Regions from separate parts of the Homo sapiens genome. Here all the other regions are linked to region 1. Evidence: promoter capture Hi-C in 16 types of primary human blood cells and fetal thymus (Javierre and others, 2016). All regions are on one chromosome and are shown on one strand. Each heading gives the region's core, a stretch centred on a gene start or on the middle of the fragment in contact. The rest is flanking DNA. Distances are from core to core; before and after follow the strand shown.

The links. Contacts are between HindIII fragments. The CHiCAGO score rates a contact against its expected background, and 5 or more counts as called.
Region 2: a contact is called between a fragment that was not itself captured here and the fragment with the promoter of SNAP91 in region 1, in 1 of 17 cell types (neutrophils). The highest score is 5.3, in neutrophils.
Region 3: a contact is called between a fragment that was not itself captured here and the fragment with the promoter of SNAP91 in region 1, in 1 of 17 cell types (neutrophils). The highest score is 5.3, in neutrophils.

The regions. Positions count from the first base shown.
Region 1 is chr6:83,706,978-83,710,835 of GRCh38, forward strand. It overlaps SNAP91 (synaptosome associated protein 91), which reads right to left and starts at 2,124. Exons shown (of 30, transcript NM_001242792.2): 1 at 1,868-2,124; 2 at 821-980. The coding sequence starts at 950. LOC105377879 (a long non-coding RNA gene) reads left to right here and starts at 2,465. Exons shown (of 3, transcript NR_136251.1): 1 at 2,465-2,742. RefSeq lists silencers at 1,093-1,387, 1,797-2,006, 2,337-2,396. The HindIII fragment of the contact is 3,637 bases long and covers 1-3,263 here.
Region 2 is chr6:84,152,452-84,156,309 of GRCh38, forward strand. It overlaps CEP162 (centrosomal protein 162), which reads right to left. Exons shown (of 27, transcript NM_014895.4): 22 at 2,847-3,059; 23 at 94-728. Among named protein-coding and RNA genes, the nearest start is that of CEP162, 73 kb to the right of the region's middle. The HindIII fragment of the contact is 7,858 bases long and covers 1-3,858 here.
Region 3 is chr6:84,058,336-84,062,193 of GRCh38, forward strand. All of the region lies in intron 2 of MRAP2 (melanocortin 2 receptor accessory protein 2), which reads left to right. Among named protein-coding and RNA genes, the nearest start is that of MRAP2, 26 kb to the left of the region's middle. The HindIII fragment of the contact is 1,397 bases long and covers 1,501-2,897 here.

The sequences.
Region 1 (3,858 bases), core at 874-3,373:
TTCAGAAATATATAGATTCCAGAGTAGAATAAAGCCTTTTCCATCAAATAACCAGTTACAAAAATAATATTAAGAATTAAACGGTTTCATCTAAAATTGCACCATCTCAGATGCTGGGGAAGTACATCCATTTTGTGACCATAGCATAGTCATCTCACCCAGCATTTTCTGAGAATGGGACAAAGTGTGCCAGGATGTGTAAAATGAAATTGCCATAGCTATGAAGTCCAATTTCCTCATTCAGTACCTTGAATTTATTTCAGTTTGGTATGGTAACATACCTCACACACACACACACACACCCATACTCACAAAAACAATCCTCAGGAGCAACACTTAAAAAGATTATACTACCTTAGAACTATCTGAAATGTATTTAGGAAAGAACTAGGGTGACAAGTTTGACCTTCCATAAATTCATCTTTTTTTTTTTTGACTGTGCAACCTCTAATTTCCTCTAATTTGGAGAAGGGAGGGTGGGTGGAGAAAGAAAAAAAGGTGAAAAACATCTAATTCAGTGTGTACAATCTCTCTCTTGTGTGTGTGTATATACATATGCGTGTGTGTGTGTGTGTGTGTGTGTATTTTTCCCCCTCCACCAAGACCTTGGAGGTCAATAAGAGGAAAAAATGGCTCACAAGACAAGGTTTCATGGCTAACCCAAGGGAACACCTTCACAGCTGAAGAATTTCAGCTCAGGGGCAACCTGGCTGGGAGTATCAGAGGCCACAGCATTATGGACCAAGAGCGCAGGCCGCACCACCAGCATCCCAGGCGCCTCTGCCGTGCGCATGTCCCTCTTATATAAAGAGATGCTTACAGTCCAGGTGCTTTTTCTTGGGGCCCATTACTTCATGAGTAGTGGCTTTGCAGACCGCTCTTGCTACAGCAGAGCCTGTAACGCTGTACTGAGCGGCGGCGATCCGATCCGTGAGCGTTTGGCCCGACATCTTCTGTGGTCGCGTCTACCGCCTCCTCTTCTGCAGGAAACAAGGGGAGACGGTCCGGCTTTAATCCGCAGACCCTACCCTCCAAGCACCCAGGCCTTGCCTCCTCCAGCCGCGCGGCGGCTCTCTCCTCCTCCATCCCCACCCTGGCACCACCTCTCGGAGCCAGCAACGCGCCAAGCCCCGCTCCTGCGATGCGGTCCAGGGAGTCTTGGCCGTGAGTAGGGCCGTCACGGAACCCCAGCGTGGGCTCCAGTCGCAGCATCGTGACACCGTCCCCATTCTCCCCCGGCCCCCACATAGGGCCAGACTCACCCCCTGGGGACCCCCCTGTCAATCAGCACTTTCCCCGCAACCTGACCCGCGGGTGCTGGACTAGCCACAACGTGCGTTGGGGTTATTCCCTGGGCGCCGCACCCACCGGTGCCCATCTCCCACCTCAGCAGACTTTCCTCCTAGCAGCCCGCAGGCTTCGGGGAATGCATCGGATACCCAAGCCCTGGCTGCCTCCCTCCTCCTCCTCGCGCTGCTGCAGCAAAGGGCTCGTCCTCCCTCAGTCGCGAAGGAGATTATCCTAGCGTTGCGCCATGTTATGCCCTCGCCTCCCCTTCCTTCCTCGCCGCCGGCTCCAAAGCCTCGCCGAGGCCCATCGCCCGGGCCCCTTCCCCCCGGTTCCAAATCCCTGCCGCAGGGGCCGCCCGGGAGCTCTGCGGAGGCGCCGGAGTCTTGGGGCGCCTCACCCTTCCTGGCTTTGGAGAGGAGCCGGGCTGACAGCGAAGCCCAGTCCCCCGCCCGCCCTGGAGCGCTCCGCGGAGCTGTCACTCGGCCGCTGCCCTTCTCCGCACCCTGGGATTATCCTCTGCGGATCCCCGCGAGACCCTGGCGCGGGGAGGGGGCCGAGTACGGCCGCGGGTACTCACCCCGCCCCTGAGCGGCGCCGCCCGCCGCAGGATGAGCGGAGCCCGGGCCGCCGAGGGAAGCCGCGCCGGTGGATGTGTGCGACCGCGCGTAGCCCCGGTGCCCCCGGGCGCAAAGTCTCCAGCCCTGGCCGGGCCCCGCTCCTCAGCTCCGCGGTCCCGGCGCCCACCGCCCCTGGCCCCTGGCCCCAGAAGCCAGTACCCGCCCGCCGCCGCCTCTTCTGCCAGCGCCGCCGCGTCTCTCTAGCGCTCCGAGCTGCGTCCCCATCCCCGCCCCCACCTCAGCTGTGGCTCCTCCGACGAGTCAGGTGACGGCGGCGGACAAACCCGGACGAGCCCTCGGCGGAGCGCCTCGCGGCCCCCTCCCAGCTACTCACACACACCGCCCCCCGGGGCCGGGAGCTTAAAGGCGAGGGGGCGCCTCGCGCAAGCATCCCCGGCAAGCCGGCGGGGAGAAGAAGGAGGCGGGGAGGCCGACACCCACCCAGCCAGCGGCTCTCCGCTGGGCGCCGGGCCGCCCCTCCGCTGCTGGCGCCGCACCCGGCACGCACTGGGCTCGCGCACCACGCACACCTGCCCGCCGACTGCGGGGGGAGCCCTGGGCGTTGGGGGCGTTGGCCAAGACGGGCGAGTGGGCTTCTCGGGTTCTACTCTGTGAAGGCCAAGGCAAGGGCGTCGTCGCGCGCTGCCTGGCGGAGCCCAGCCCCTTCCCCACACTGTCGCTGACACGCCCGCCTGTCAAAGGCTCCGAGGCCCAGATGAGCAGGGCGATTTTAAATGTCAGATCCTGCCGGCCATCCGCGACCGTCACCTGTGCGTCTTCAGCTCCTCAGGCTCCTCCGCTTGTCTCAGTTACAACTGGGAGCCCGGGTGGGCAGGTAATTCTAGCCACTTTAGTCTTAAACGGATACTGAGGTCTGCTGAAGGGAGAATAATTAACACAGCCGTTAATCGAGTCCCAGATTACCTTCGACAGTAATCATTTGCGTGCATAAAGAAAACCCTTTGTACCCTTAAGAAGTAATTTCTGCCAATTAAATATAGTGTTGGAACGTCCGTCAATTGTATGTCAAGTGTATATTCGAATAGTAAGCAGGAATTTCTAAACAGGGATGTGGAGTTGGTTAATAGCTTCACGTGTTGACATTTTCAAAGGTTGTTATTTATGTTCACCTTTTTTTTTAATTCTCACAGTAGCATGAAGATCAAAACTATATTTGTGAGCTTTCCTGGCATTTTTTCTCCTTGCTTCGGGTGGCTTCTGCTCGGCCTTGAAGCCATATATCGATACCTATCGATCTCAACGTTTTGTTATATATTCCTCTCTTTCACCTGGTACAGTGTTCAGTATGCAGTCATGATTTCCTAACTACTGAGACTGATTCTAGGACTAATTGGAAGCTTAATGACTAAAGAGAGACAGCTTAAGAGCACTATTGTCTCAAGTACTAGTCTTACCATATTTACAAGGGAAATAAAAACGCAATTCTATTAAAAAAACTTGTACTCCAGTTTTATAGCAGCTTAATATAATGGCCCCAAACTGGAGGAAAGCCAAATGTTATTCTACTAGTAAATGAATAAACAAAATATGGTATATCCACATAATGGAATACTACTTAGCAATAACAAGAAACAAACTAATACCATTCATGAATCTCAAATTCATTAGACGAAGGGAAAGAAGCTCTATCAAAAATTCTACTTATTATTTTGATTTCATTTATGTAACATTCTGGAAAAGTCAAAACTATAGAAACAGAAAACACATCAGGTGCCGAGTCAGGTGACGGTGGCATTGGGGGAGGGGACTGCAAAGGGGCAGAAGGAAACTTTTTGGAGAGATGGAAATGTTTTATATCGTGACGGTGATGATGATTATACAGCTGCATGTATTTCTCAAAACTCATCAATTTGTACACTTAAAATTGGCGAATTTTGTTGTTTGTTAATTATACCTCAATATAATCTGATAGAGTTGGGAGTGGCAATAT
Region 2 (3,858 bases), core at 1,007-3,506, 450 kb after region 1:
TCAAACTAATTATCTGGAGGAAATATATCGTATAATTTTTCTATTTTTATCTTTTTATTTTTACAAATATTTATAAATAATTTAACATTTTACCTTCTCATGGAGTTTTCAAATTGATTCATCACTGCTTCAGATTTCATCTTCAGTTCATTCTTCTCTGAAATTAATCCTTCTAGCTCATTTTTTAATCTGTAGTTTTCTTGTAAAACTTCTGAAACATGGGAATCAGTGAAAGTATGTGGTTGGTACAGCTTGCTGTCCAGGGTTCCAGGGAAGGAGTTAGCATTTCCTTTACTTGAGTGCAAAACATCTTTCTTTGCCCTTTTGGCAGACATTTCCTCTCTGCCCTTTGAGTTCTGATTTGATAGCATCATTCTTCTGTCTTTCTGAAGCCTCTCCACAGTTTTTGAGAGGTCTTGTATTTCTCTCTTTTTTGCAGCCAGTTCTTCATTGAGTCTTACTAATTTAGCTTTAGCATGAGCCTGTTCCACCTGGAATTCTATAGACTGAAAATCTTCATCATCTTTATCATTTTTCTTGACGTCTAATTCAGCATTCTGATGTTTAAGAACGTCTATTTCGGCTTCAAGGTTTCTTACAGTGATCTGATGGGCTTCCTTGATGTCATCAAGTTCCTTCTCTAGGGCTTTAATTCTGGGAGAGTCATGTTGATTCAATTTGCAGGCAAGTAGCTGCTCCTGCTGCTCTAGTCTTTGTTCATACTGAATCTGAAGGAAAGAATCCATGTAATGCCAAACACCTGTTAAACGTTTCATTAGTTGCTGAAGCCCTGCACACTACTGGGTCCTACCTAATCCTTTATTCAGGTACTCATTATACATTCTGATGTCTACAATTCTGTTTCTTGAGTGAGTCAAATGTATTGAAGTCCTAGTCTTTCAGGGCATAACATTATATATTCTTGATATATGTTATGTTATTTAATAATTGATATGTTGCTTCATAACTATTAACTTACATATGTTCTTACACACTCCAAAATTTATTTTAAATCTCACAATAAAACCTATTATTATGCAGTCTTCTCCATGCAAACTGTCAACACACTCTTCGAGGATAAACAGTAAAGCAACTGGGGGCACTGAAGTCTTCGGGAAACAGCACATTTTCAACCTTCTAACATCAATTTATTACTTTCATAGAGAGTAAAATGGCCTGGAATTTGTATACTGGAGCTTTAATATTTTGTTTAGTATTCAGCAAATGAAATAAATAATTTCTCCTACGGAGGGAGGCACGAGCAGTGTTTGCTCATTCATTCAATGGATATTTACCAAGTTATGACCTTATGCCAAGCAACATGCAGGTTCTAGCAACAAAAAGACTCAGTTATTATTTTCAAATAGCTCACAGCTTGGTGAGGAGAGCAACATGGCAGCAGCTACAACGTCCCACAAGTAAAATAATGGGCCTGTGAACATAGTGCAGTGAGTGCAGAGGAGGCGACGCTGCCCTAAGTGTCTGGAGGCTTGACAGAAGGTGGGAAGACTGCACAGAGATAGCACATTTATGTTCGGTCTTGAGAGATGACTGTTAATTTGGGGTTAGGTGGAGTCAGGGATGTTTTGGAAGTAGGAAGAGCATATGCAAAGCTGGCTGAATGTTTGGTATATACAGGGAATCAGAAATGAAAGGGGGAAGAGACAAGTAGTAAGCAAAGGCAGGAGTGGGATGGGGCAGGGGGCTGCAAAAAGAAACAAGTTAGGGTGTTTAGATTTAGATACATAAAAGTGCAGTAGCGGGTTGGAGTTTACACCTGACAGTCTTATTTAGTTGGTGGAACACTAATAATAATTATAATCATTAATTGTTTGCTAGACTCCAGACATGTTATCAGGGATATCTATCTATCTATCTATCTGTCTGTCTGTCTGTCTGTCTGTCTGTCTATCTATCTATCTATCTACCTATCTATCTATCTATCTATGTATCTATCTGTAAAACAGGGTGGAATAGAAGAAACCCAACCTCCTTGATGTGACCTTAATTAACAGGCCACTGTATTTCCAGGTTATCAACCTTCTACTGTTTCTGGAATCTAATGTTCTGTCATTTGTTGCTTTTCTCGGGATATAAATATGTGGGAAATGAAATGAGCTTCCTAGAACATCTCAGCTCCTTCATCTGCAAAATAGTGTTAACAGTATCTACTCCTCACAGGTGTTTGGAAGGATTATGCAAGATGAACAGAGATATTTATGAAAGTATCTAGCATGAATTCCTGACAGACACGTGCTCAACAAATTTTTAAAAATAATCTATAACTGTTATTTGTCTACAAAATTTTTTTTAAAGTAAATTAAATATGTCCTGTTTCATACTTGGTCTGTTCTAGCACTTGTATTTTCTGATTCATTCCTGTTTCACAAAATAATGGAAAACTCAGAAAGTAAGACATTTCTGGAAGATGCTCCCCTACCCGCTGTTCCTAAAATGTATACTTCTGTCTTATTCCCTTACCCTTCTCTAGATAAATTTCAGTGAAAATATTTTCAAACATGGTAATTTCTTTTTTCCTTTTGTACTGGATACATATCAGGTGTGTTTTATTCTGCTTTTTCATGACTTAATTTCCACTAATTCTCATATTGAGAGAGATGATGTAAAGATTATCCTGTGCTTGATTACTCTGTCAGAAATAGAAAAGTTGCTGAAAGACGACACCAAAATAGGATGCACTTGGTTTCTTTTGCACCTATTGATACCAGTGGTAAAGGTTTCATGGGAAAGAATGTTTATAGCTATTTGTTAAAGTGAGATCCTAAGAAGTGCCTGCCCCCATTGTTCATCTCTGACCTTTATCTCTGAGGCTACTTACCACTTACCTTCATTTTCTGAAACTGTTGTTCCATGGTACGAAGGCTTTTCTTTGCATCTTCATCTTTGCCCTCCAGATCAGCTTCTAGCTTTTTTATCCTTTTCTCCATAAATTCCACTGTATTTTTATCCACTGTATCACCAGCTGCTGATGCAGCCAATATTAAAGCAGGTAAAGAATTGGGATATCTTCTCTTCAGAATCCCTTCCATTTCCTTAACCTATTAAAACATATTTTCCACCAAAGAACACTTAGATTTAATAAATGAATTCAGTAAAGTTTCAGGATACAATCTACAGAAATCTCTGTATACAGTAGCATTTCTATATACCAATAACAATCTTGCTGAGGACCAAATCAAGAACTACCTAGGAATATATTTAACCAAGAAGGTGAAGGATGTTTGCCAGGAGAACTACAAACACTGATAAAGAAAACCGTGACACAAACAAATAGAAAAACATCCCATGTGCATAGACTGGAAGGATTAGTGTAGTTAAAATGACCATACTGCCTAAAGCAATCTACAAATTCAATTCAATCCCTATCAAATTACCAAAGTCATTTTTCACAGAATTAGAAAAACCAATCCTACAATTCATACGGAACCAAAAAAGAGGCTGAATAGCCAAAGCAATCCTAAGCAAAAAGAACAAAGCTGGAGGTATCACACTACCTGACTTCAAATTGTACTACGAGGCTATAGCAGCCAAAACAGCACAGTACTGATAAAAATAGACACATAGATCAATGGAACAGAATAGAGAACCCAAAAATTAAGCCACATGCCTACAATCAACTGATCTTGGACAAAGTCACCAAAAAAATACACTAGGGAAAGGACACCCTATTCAATAAATGGTGCTGGGAAAAATGGATTGTCATGTGCAAAAGAATGAAACTGAACTCACACCTCTCACTTTATACAAAAATAAACTCAAGATGCTTTAAAGATCTAAGACCTGAAACTATAAAAATCCTAGAAAAAATTCTAAGAAAAACACTTTTGAACACTGGCC
Region 3 (3,858 bases), core at 949-3,448, 350 kb after region 1:
TGGCAAGATTTGTCAATGGATTGGCGGTATGTGTAAGAGAAAGAAGAGTCAAGAATGATTTGAAGATTTATGACCTGAGTAACTGGCAGGATGGAATTGCCTTTAACTGAGAGGGGGAAGAGTATGGGAGAAGGAGGTTTCAGAGAGGAACCCCAGGAGCTCTGTTTTGGACCTGTTAAATTGAGACATCTATCACATATCCAGGAGGACAAGGGAGGAGAGGTGTCGGGGGAAGCCGTAGACTTGAGAGTCATCAGCATGTAAACGGTATGCGTTCAAAGCCAAGAGGCTGGATAAGTGAGTGTAGACAGAAAACTGAAGAGTCCAATGCTGAGCCCTGGGCACGCTTGTGTTTAGAAGTTGGAGGGTTGCATAGCAGCATAGGTGCCTGAGAGGAATGTACAGAAAGTAGGAAGAAAACTGGACAATTGTGGTTTTTTGGACGCCAACTGAAAAAAGGGTTGCAAAGACAGTCTGTGTCAAATGCTGCTATTAGGTCAAGTTAATTGAAGACTGAGATTTGACCATTGGATTTATAATGTAGAAGTTACTGGCAATGATTTGAAAAGCAGTTTTAGTGGAATGCTGGGGGTAAAAGGTTGATGGAATTGGTTCAAGAAAAAATGAGAGGAGAGGAATTGGGGACAGCATGTACAGACAAATCTCTCAAGTGTCTCACTATAAAGGGAAGGAGAGGAATGGGTCATTTATGAAGAGTGTGGCTGGGTGAGACAGGGTGTTCTTAAAGCATCAGAAGCAAAAGCTGATGAGTCAATGAGTGGACAATCACATTTTAGCAGGACCACTCTGGCCGCTGTGTTGAGAAAAGACTAAAGGAATAGCCTCTTAATTTGAGCTATCAGTGGTGGCCAAATTCATGCTTTTTCGTGTGCCACCTTGCAGATACCAGACCCATGCATGGATGGGTCAGCAAGAAGCCAGGTCATTAGGATGAGAAACAGCTAGAGTTTGCAAAGGCTTGGAGTAAGATAGTAGAGACAAGTGTGGGAACATCACTGTTGGCTCTTTGCCAGGAATTCATATCACAGAATTGGCCCTACTGCCTTAGGAACAAAAAGTGGTGTGAGGAAAGTGTCATGAACCTCTCTTTCAAGTGAAGTATTAACCCTTGTTTTTCATATAACCACGAAGTGGAAAGTTCACCATTTATTCTCAGGAGGTGGAGAGGAGGGTGAGTCGGATGGAGTAGTTAACCTAGTCCTACCCTAGATTGGGAAGGAAAAAAATCATGTCAACTTTCAGCTCTCTTGTTCCATTCCATTCATTAAAGGTTAGGTTAAGGGGGGTTACTTTATTCTGACGCATTCCATTTGCAATTCCCCTGGGCAATTGTTCTACCCCTTTACAATAGTAGTCTCTAAGTAGCTCAGTGTCTAGACAGGACAGAGTGTGGTAGCTTGGCGGTGGTGGAAACTCGTTTGGAAGGCTTCTTTTGACTTTCTTAACCATCTAGCCTCATTGGAGCTTTGCTCTGTATAAAGCTTTATTCTGACTTCTTCCCAGAAAAGGATGCTTTTGGGAAGACAACGGGCTCCACTTTTCCCATCTTACTGTAGTGCCTATGCCCATGAAACTTACATGTGAATAAAACTTCAGGAGAGTTTGGATATTTCTGGGATGAGATGGGGATCTCTGATGTTTCTTGTAAGAGGCTCAGGGTGAGAAAATCCCCTGGGGATGGGTCATAGGGCAGAAGATGAGGTTGGGGGAAATTAGTGGAAATAACTTGAGGAAGCTAAATTTTGTTCAAAGGGAAATGTGAATAAGCAGAGCTACTTAAAGCATATTGCCATGAAAAACATAGATGCCGCATTATTAAGGAAATGTTTGGAAATGCTGTTGGATCATGAGGATTCTCAGATTTTACCCACAGCCTGCCTCTCCCCAACTCTGCCGCCACCTGCCTTCTCTGAAGGCTGTAACCCTCCCATGCTTCACATTATTGCTGCTTTTTGATTATCTCCCTGGGGGTACTTAGAAGGGCAGAGGGAAGGGGGACTGGGCTGGGTTGAGGGCACGCTTTCCTCCACCTCTGGGAGTCAGTCCACCATTTGCAGTGTGAAAGCTGTCCTTAGGAGAACACCTTCCTAATACACAGATTTGAAAAATGTCAATCAACATGATTCAATTCTAAACCGAAGACTTAAATATAGCATTGGTGTATAATTTTAGAATTTGCTTTTGCTATGCAGGCAGTTGATAAAGTACAGTGTAGGGAACTGTTATTTATCTGTACAATGTTTCTTCACAGTCCATGCCTAGATAGTTGAGATTTAATTGTTTCATGTTAGTTGTACCTCAGTACATGTGGTGTTTGGTATTTGTCCTTACATCTTTTTTTTTTTTTGAGACGGAGTCTTGCTCTGTCACCCAGGCTGCAGTGCTGTGGCGCGATCTTGGCTCACTGCAAGCTCCACCTGCCGGGTTCACGCCATTCTCCTGCCTCAGCCTCCCGAGTAGCTGGGACTACAGGCGCCTGCCACCACACCCGGCTAATTTTTTTTTTTTTTTTTTTTGTATTTTTAGTAGAGACGGGGTTTCACTGTCTTAGCCAGGATGGTTTTGATCTCCTGACCTCGTGATCTGCCCGCCTCGGCCTCCCAAAGTGCTGGGATTACAGGCGTGAGCCACTGCGCCTGGCCCTTATGTCTTTTTTTATGCCTCATTTCTACTATATTAAAAGGCAAAGTATACAATTTCTATTTCTTTGGCACTTAAGGTTAGACACATTAGTTTTTCAGAGTGCTGAATACACATTGTTAACCTCTAGGCAATAGTATATGTAGGATGAAAGTATGAATTATGCAGAGTAAATTGTTAATCTGATTTCTTCACTTTGGAAAAAGTGCTACATATACATAATTTAATTAGAATAAAGCTTTGCATTTAAACACATTTAATATTTAAGCTCTAATCACTTATTTTTAGAAAATTGCTAAGCATCCTCATTGTATTTCCACATAGACAAGCTTCTTAGTGTAGGCCAAAAAATGTAGAATGATTCAACTCTGTTGTGTCCTAGATTTGAGGCCTTATTGTGCAAGTACCAAGTTCTGTAGACAATCCAATCTAACCCTGGTCCTAGAGATAAAGAATTGTGATTGTTATCCAAGATAGGACCAAGGAGAGCCCTGTTTAGGGAATTACAGACAAAAATGTTATTGGGTTCAAAGGAGGGAGACAACACATCAATTATGGAAATTAGTTGAGGCTTAGTAGATAGTGTAGCGGATGGACTTGGAAGGATGGATACACTTTCATTAGCTCCACGTTGGGAAAAGTTGTTCCAGCCAGGTAGTGGTAAGAGCCCTGGTAAGGTGTGGCTGTGAGGAAGCTGTGGCTAAGGTAAATACAGGGACACAGTGTCCCCTAGTTTGATTGGAAACACATGGCTTTTAAAGTGGTAAATTGGGAGAAAATGACAATTCTAATGACAGTAGCCAGCACCTGTGGTGTACTGTTTTCTCAGATGTCAGACATTGTATAAAGTGCTTTATGTGTGGAATCTCTTTTACTCTGGAAAAGTGGGTCAGTTCTGTTTTTGTTGGAGAGCTTTTCATGAAAGAGCAATATCATCAGGGCTGTGATTAAAGCAGGTTTGTACAGAAATAAAGCACAGGGAAAGGCAGAAGGCAGAGAGAGCACTCAAGAGGCCATCTGTATGTTCTCTGCAAGAAGTAATGAGAGCCTGAATTATCCATGGTGAACGTAAGTGAGAATGCAAAGTTGCTACCTAATTGAGATGCTAACCAATTGAGTTGTTAAACTAAAATTTGGCCCAAGAAGGCCTCCATTATTTGCATACTTGCATTCTTAGGTATGAGCTGTGACCTAGCT